Linked DNA regions of Homo sapiens: region 1 is linked to region 2. Evidence: promoter capture Hi-C in 16 types of primary human blood cells and fetal thymus (Javierre and others, 2016). All regions are on one chromosome and are shown on one strand. The core of a region is centred on a gene start or on the middle of the fragment in contact, and the rest is flanking DNA. Distances in the headings are between cores, read along the strand shown.

Evidence for each region. The method cuts DNA at HindIII sites, captures the fragments that hold promoters and counts their contacts. A CHiCAGO score of 5 or more calls a contact.
Region 1: a fragment that was not itself captured here is called in contact with the fragment with the promoter of AGL in region 2 in 1 of 17 cell types (fetal thymus); the score reaches 5.2 in fetal thymus.

Annotation. Positions count from the first base shown.
Region 1 is chr1:100,379,499-100,382,702 of GRCh38, forward strand. The region is part of intron 3 of CDC14A (cell division cycle 14A); the gene reads left to right. Among named protein-coding and RNA genes, the nearest start is that of CDC14A, 29 kb to the left of the region's middle. The HindIII fragment of the contact is 1,445 bases long and covers 554-1,998 here.
Region 2 is chr1:99,848,604-99,851,763 of GRCh38, forward strand. AGL (amylo-alpha-1,6-glucosidase and 4-alpha-glucanotransferase) reads left to right here and starts at 1,758. Exons shown (of 34, transcript NM_000642.3): 1 at 1,758-1,812; 2 at 2,372-2,521. The coding sequence starts at 2,440. RefSeq lists enhancers at 904-1,878, 1,079-1,228, 1,879-2,852 and a silencer at 1,409-1,728. The HindIII fragment of the contact is 4,640 bases long and covers 1-3,160 here.

The DNA of each region.
Region 1 (3,204 bases), core at 26-2,525, 530 kb after region 2:
TAGAATCTCTAATTAGGAGAAAAAGATTTACTGTACCAGTCCAAAGTTGGAATTGCTTCAGTTTTGTGGAATCTTAGTTTCTTCATCTGTAAAATAGGAATTATAGAACTGTCACAGGGTGGTGGTTAGTATTATATTAGAAAACATGTCTTAGTCTGTTTTGCATTGCTATAAAGGAATACCAGAGGCTAGGTAATTTATAAAGAAAAGAGTTTTATATAGCTCATGGTTCCACAGGCTGTACATGAATCGTGGCACCAACATCTGCTTCTGGTGAGTCCCTCAGGAAGCTTTCACTCAAGGCAGAAGGTCAAGGGGAACAGTCATGTCATATGGCAAGAGAGGGAGCAAGGGAGAGGGGAGGGAGGTGCCACACTCTTTTTAACAACAAAATCTTGGGGGAACTAAGAGTGAAAACCCACTCAATCCCCTCAGAATGGCACCGAGCCGTTCATGAGGGATCTGCCCCCATGACCCAAGGCCCCACCTCTTAACACTGGGGATCACGTGAGATTTGGAGAGGACAAATATCCAAACTATATCAATATGTAAAAGCTTTGTACATTTTAAAGTCCTATACATAATAAAGTTACCAATGTAACATTTGTGAATTCTGATAGGGAATATAATAAAGACAGTTCTTCTACAAAATCGATGAACACCTGTTTCTCAGCCTTAAAGCTATTGTTTATATATGGGAAAGCTGTCCAATATAATTTTAGGAATCTAAATGACCATTTAGTCAAGACTCAGAAAGGGAAGCCTGGGAAAGGTGTGTGACTTGCCCAGTGCAGCAGGCAAAGTCAGGGCTAGATTTCATGGCTCTTGACCACATTTTTCCTGTTCTTCTTTCCACCTTCAGTAGGAACCATAGCCTCTGGTTTACAGTCATCCTTTGTTCACTCTTAGCATTGCCCCAGCTACCTGACCTTGTTGTCCCACGCTGACTTTGAGGCTCCTCTGCCTCTTTCATTCCAGTAAGTGTTAGGGCCATTCTGTCTGCTTCACTTCCACGAACCCAGACTCCAGATTCTCCCACTTGGAAAATGCCTTTGTTACTCACTTTGCACATTCTGTCCCTCTCACACTACTGGGATTGCTAGACCTTCAGTCTCCCTGTTCTCTCAGTCCACTGGCACCCTGCTGATGTCTCTTGCCTGCAGCCCATGGTCACTTACTTCAGTAAGGTCTTGGGTACTTTGCTTTCTTGTCTTTCTGCCTTGCCAGCTCTCACCCTTGTTGTTTTCCCAGTGGATGATTTCATGCACTAATTTACTGGGAAGCAGCAGTACCCTTGCCACTCCCAGCCTTGCACTTTACTCTACCATACCAGCTGTTCCATGCATTTGCTCATGAAGACCAGTCTGACTGGGATGCCCTTACCCTCTGGCTTGATAGCTCTTCATTCTTTAATACCTTGTCCAGCCACCACCCTTTAGGAAGCATCTTCTTGTCCTTTTGGACTGGATTGAGGGTGCCTCCCTTGTTTTCCCATCATTCTCTGTGCAGATCTGTATCGTTGATGAATTGTAATTACCTGTTTGCACCTGTCATTCTCACTAGACTATGAGCTTCTAGAGGGTGGAAGGTGGAGGATGTCATGTATCTTTGTGTTCTCAGTGCCTAGTGCAGGGACAACAGACACACAGAGACTTCTTTTGACTTTGTCATGATCCCCTTCATTTGCAGATCCCCCTTTCTCCTTTTGCTTCCAGAGGTTTCAGAAGAAGAGCCTGCCTCCATCCTTCCTGTGTGCTGATTTCTTAACCCTTTGTTATCTAACTTTTGCCTTCCCTACTCTACCGAAACTGCTCTAATAACGTCTTAAATGCTGAATCTGATGGCACTTGCTGGATCCTCAAACTCCTTTACTTCTCTGAGTAATTTCGCACTGTGTTAACTAGTAACTTCGTCTTAGGATTCTTCTCTTGTGTGATTTCCCAGTTCTTTTAGGCACATTTCATTTTTTAGTTTGGAAATTTTTATTCCTTCCAAGAAAGCTTGTGTGATTTTTCTTCCTCATTCTGTGCTTTATATAGATAGGTAATATTTTGCTGTACATTTTATTCCAATCCCAAATTTCTCATTTTTGAAATGAGAAGATGTTTTTTTCCAGTTGATGATTTGAGTTGGTGATTTATCGCTATTTTTGTGTTTCTGTGTCTATATGCATTCTATTCCCAATGTCCTTATTTTAATTATGTCAATCAGAATGGAAAATTATCCCATCAAACATATGCTTAGATTAAAAATCCAAACATAAAATGCATCATCACCAATAAAAAACCTGCTGCTTATTTAAACTGTACTTTAAAAAATTGTCAGTACTAGGAATTAGGCAGTAATAGGTTGCTGTTTGGTCTTTCCCCTAGGATAGGGGAAGCAATCAAAAGAGGGAAGATGCATTGAAGTGAGAACAATTTGTTAAACTGTGTATGTTATTTAATGTTAAATGTCATCAATGATTGATAGCCTTGAGCTGGAATTATTATTCTGGTAATTCAAGGGATCCATAAACCCTTGAAATTATACAATTTTGTATGTATTTACATTTTTCTTCTGGGAGGATTCATGGCTTTTTTTCAGGTTCTCAGAGGGATCCTTGACACAGACATGCTAAGAACACTGGGCTAAAGTCTTCTGAAAAAGAAGACTTTACTAACAAAAGACAAAGTTGTGGTATTTTGAAAAAACTGAATACCTTCCTCTATTCTTTTTTTTTTTTTTTTTTTTTTGAGAGGGGGTCTCACTGCGTCACCTGGGCTGGAGTGCCATGGTGCAGTCATAGCTCACTGCAGCCTCAAACTCCTGGGCTTTGATGATTCTCCCACTTCAGTCAACTGACTAACTGGAAATATAGGTGCACACTTCTGCACCCCACCCAGCTAACTATTTTTTTTTTTTTTTTTTTTTAGTTTTTGTAGAGGCAGGGACACACTATGTTGATCAGGCTGGTCTTGAACTTCTGGGCTTAAGCTAGCTTCCCGCCTGAGCCTCCCAAAGTGGTGGGATTACAGGCATGAGCCACTGTGCTTGGCCGTCAATACAGTTTTAATTATTGATTTCATTTTCCTCTGAGAAAAATAAAACCTGAGCTTGGAGAAAAAAAAAGTCTCTGAAAAAAGGGGACATTTTCTAGGGCAGTGGTTTTTCTTTTTTTTAATACCTGCTGTTATGAATCAACAGGATAATTACAGTAATCTT
Region 2 (3,160 bases), core at 508-3,007:
CTTTTAAAAGGTCAATCAGATTATGTCACTCCTCTGTTCAAAATCTCCATGGCTTTTTTTCCAAAGTTTAAAAGCCCAAGTCCTTGCAATGGCCTACAAAGCCTTAAAAGATCTGGTCACCCGTCTGTGCTCCTGATCCCTTCTCCTGCCCCATCTGTCTGTCCTAATCTCTTACCACTCTCTTCTTCACTCAGCTATGGTGATCTTCTTCGGTTCACCAAGTATGCTCCTGCCTCATGGCCTTTGTACTTCCTATACCTCTACATGTAACCCTCTACCTTAGACTTCTTCTTTCTCGCAGTTTGGCATCACTTTACTGAACGTTATATTTAGAAATGCAAACCTCTCTCTGCTTACTCTTCCACACTTCCCCCTTCCTATTATATATAGGATATAACATATCCTTCTTATTATATAGGATATATTATATCCTGTATAATTTATTTAATTTATCTGTCTCCCACCAATAAAATGTAGGAGTTCCTTGAGGGCAGTGACTGTTTTATTGCTGCATTCCCAGCACCTTATGTGCCTGGCAAATAGTAGGGGCCAGAAAATGAGCTGTGGGTTCCCAAAGTCAGTTACGGACCATTTGCAACTAGCCATTCTCAGAAATCTACAGAAATAAACAAATACTTCAGTATGGGGTTTTTTTTTTTAACTTATATCCTCTTTGGACCTACAGTCATTCCACAATAAAGAATGCAAGAATCTTCTCCACACGCCACAAGTCTTAGTTAACCAAATCTTCTGTCCATTTTCTCATAACCATTAGGAGCCCTCCAAAAGCCCTGGAAGATGGGTTTTCCTTTACCCTCAGGCATTAAATCTCCTTAAGCATCTGCAAAAAGTTCTGAGTTACTGGCCTAACATAAGTGCAGCTTAATCTCAGACGATCTCCGGGTCTATCTAGTGTACATGAGGTACACCCGGACACCGTTAAGTATCAGTGGTGTTTGCACTCTCGATGGTTTGCAGACTGGCCACACCTTACCTACTGGGTCTGCATTCAGGAACATGTGTCCTGTCTGTTAGCACTAGAAGTGATGGACACGTGTTGGCTGGAATGTCAAGGCTGTAGCCAGGCCCCTTATTTTAGACACTTAGAAATCAGGACTCTGAGAACTTAGGCCAAGTAAAAATTATCAAAACAAAGAAACAAAACACGTGGTGGCACAAAAGACACCAGAAGCCAGGTCGTTTGCCCCTCACCATTCAGCCCTTCCCAGCAAAAGATCCTACTGTGCAGCTCAACCTAGCTCGCAGCCGGTACCGCGGGATTTTAATGTGCAACTGTGAGCTCGCAGGCTGTTAAAGGAAGGCCGCGCCTTGGCCGGTGCACCTTCCCCAGGGCAAGGAGAAAGCGCCGCTCCCGGCCTCAGCCGCAGCAGGCTCCAGGTCCCCCGGCCCGGAGCCGACTGAGACGGTGCGGTGCCCACGCTCTCGCGAGACTAGCGGTCGGGGCGGGCGGGTCGAGCCTCCCGGAAGTGGGCCAGAGGTACGGTCCGCTCCCACCTGGGGCGAGTGCGCGCACGGCCAGGTTGGGTACCGGGTGCGCCCAGGAACCCGCGCGAGGCGAAGTCGCTGAGACTCTGCCTGCTTCTCACCCAGCTGCCTCGGCGCTGCCCCGGTCGCTCGCCGCCCCTCCCTTTGCCCTTCACGGCGCCCGGCCCTCCTTGGGCTGCGGCTTCTGTGCGAGGCTGGGCAGCCAGCCCTTCCCCTTCTGTTTCTCCCCGTCCCCTCCCCCCGACCGTAGCACCAGAGTCGCGGGTCCTGCAGTGCCCCAGAAGCCGCACGTATAACTCCCTCGGCGTAAGTGCTAGGAATGCCGCTGGCCTCGCGGGGAAACGCATTCTTTCTATCTATAGCTCGCTCTGTACATCTTCTGTCTACGGCAGCTATTCCAGAGGCAACAACTGCTTCCCTCTGTTCTCATCTCCCCATTGGTGGCTGGCGACCCGAATTTGGGAATGGGGAGATTGCCCACCTGTTATCTTTGAGCAGACTAATCTCTTGTAAGCAGAAGTGCCATTCGGAGTCTCCAGAGCCCTGTGGCTTGGGGCTGGGAATGTCCCCCTGACTTCAGGCTTTCCTAAGTGTATTGCTTTTCTCTGAGAATGGTCTAGGTTTTTAATTTTTTAATTGTAAGAATCTGTAATACAGCATTTTTATTTCGGTCTTATTCGTTGTGCTCAAAGGCAGGAAACAACTATTAATTTGCCTTCTCGAATCTTAATAGTTATAAGATTCATTCTCTTTCATTGCTCTGCTAGGCATAAAACACACTTCGAACATGTAAGTGCCGCTGTCAGCTCTGGAGAGTTTAAGGCAATAGTTATTTTCGATATTTTAACTCCTTTTTGTTTCATAGGGGTAACTCATTCGACTGTGGAGTTCTTTTAATTCTTATGAAAGATTTCAAATCCTCTAGAAGCCAAAATGGGACACAGTAAACAGATTCGAATTTTACTTCTGAACGAAATGGAGAAACTGGAAAAGACCCTCTTCAGACTTGAACAAGGTCAGTAGCAAGTTGTTTTGATTTGCTCATTTGCGTCTTTTAAACTTTTAATTCATTGGCAGTCCTGTTAAATGTTTTAAAGCTCTAAGATAAATATTATTTCCAAGGGTCTAAAACTTGATTTGTGCAAAGATGGTGCTGTGTTCTCCATATATCACTAATTAATGTTGATTTGAATTAAAAATATTTTATATCCCTCGTGTTAGGATAAGGATAAAATAGTTCTCTTTTCTCTGCGTACTAATTCCCACTTAAGATTGAAGTTAAATATATGATCAGAAGATTGCCCATATTATTTCTAATAACATTTACTATTAAAACTTGGTAAATTACTTCATATGTAATTTTGCTTTGGGTATGCATGTAGTTTTGCCTTTGTATAACTGTCTCTTTTCCTTTGTTGAACCTTTGAATTGACAAAATAGATTGCAGCAAAAAGTATAGTAAACTATTGTTTATGTATATCAAAAACTTCTCAAATGTGGAGTAGGTAAAAGCTGAAAATATTTTCTTAGCAAATAAAAAGTGCAATAACTCATCTGGTTATGTTGAACTATATATAGTTGATCTGTATTTAAAAGATCAAATTACTTTTCTACAAGGCTAGTTAATAGATGTTTTATTTTCTTAGCCTTTGTA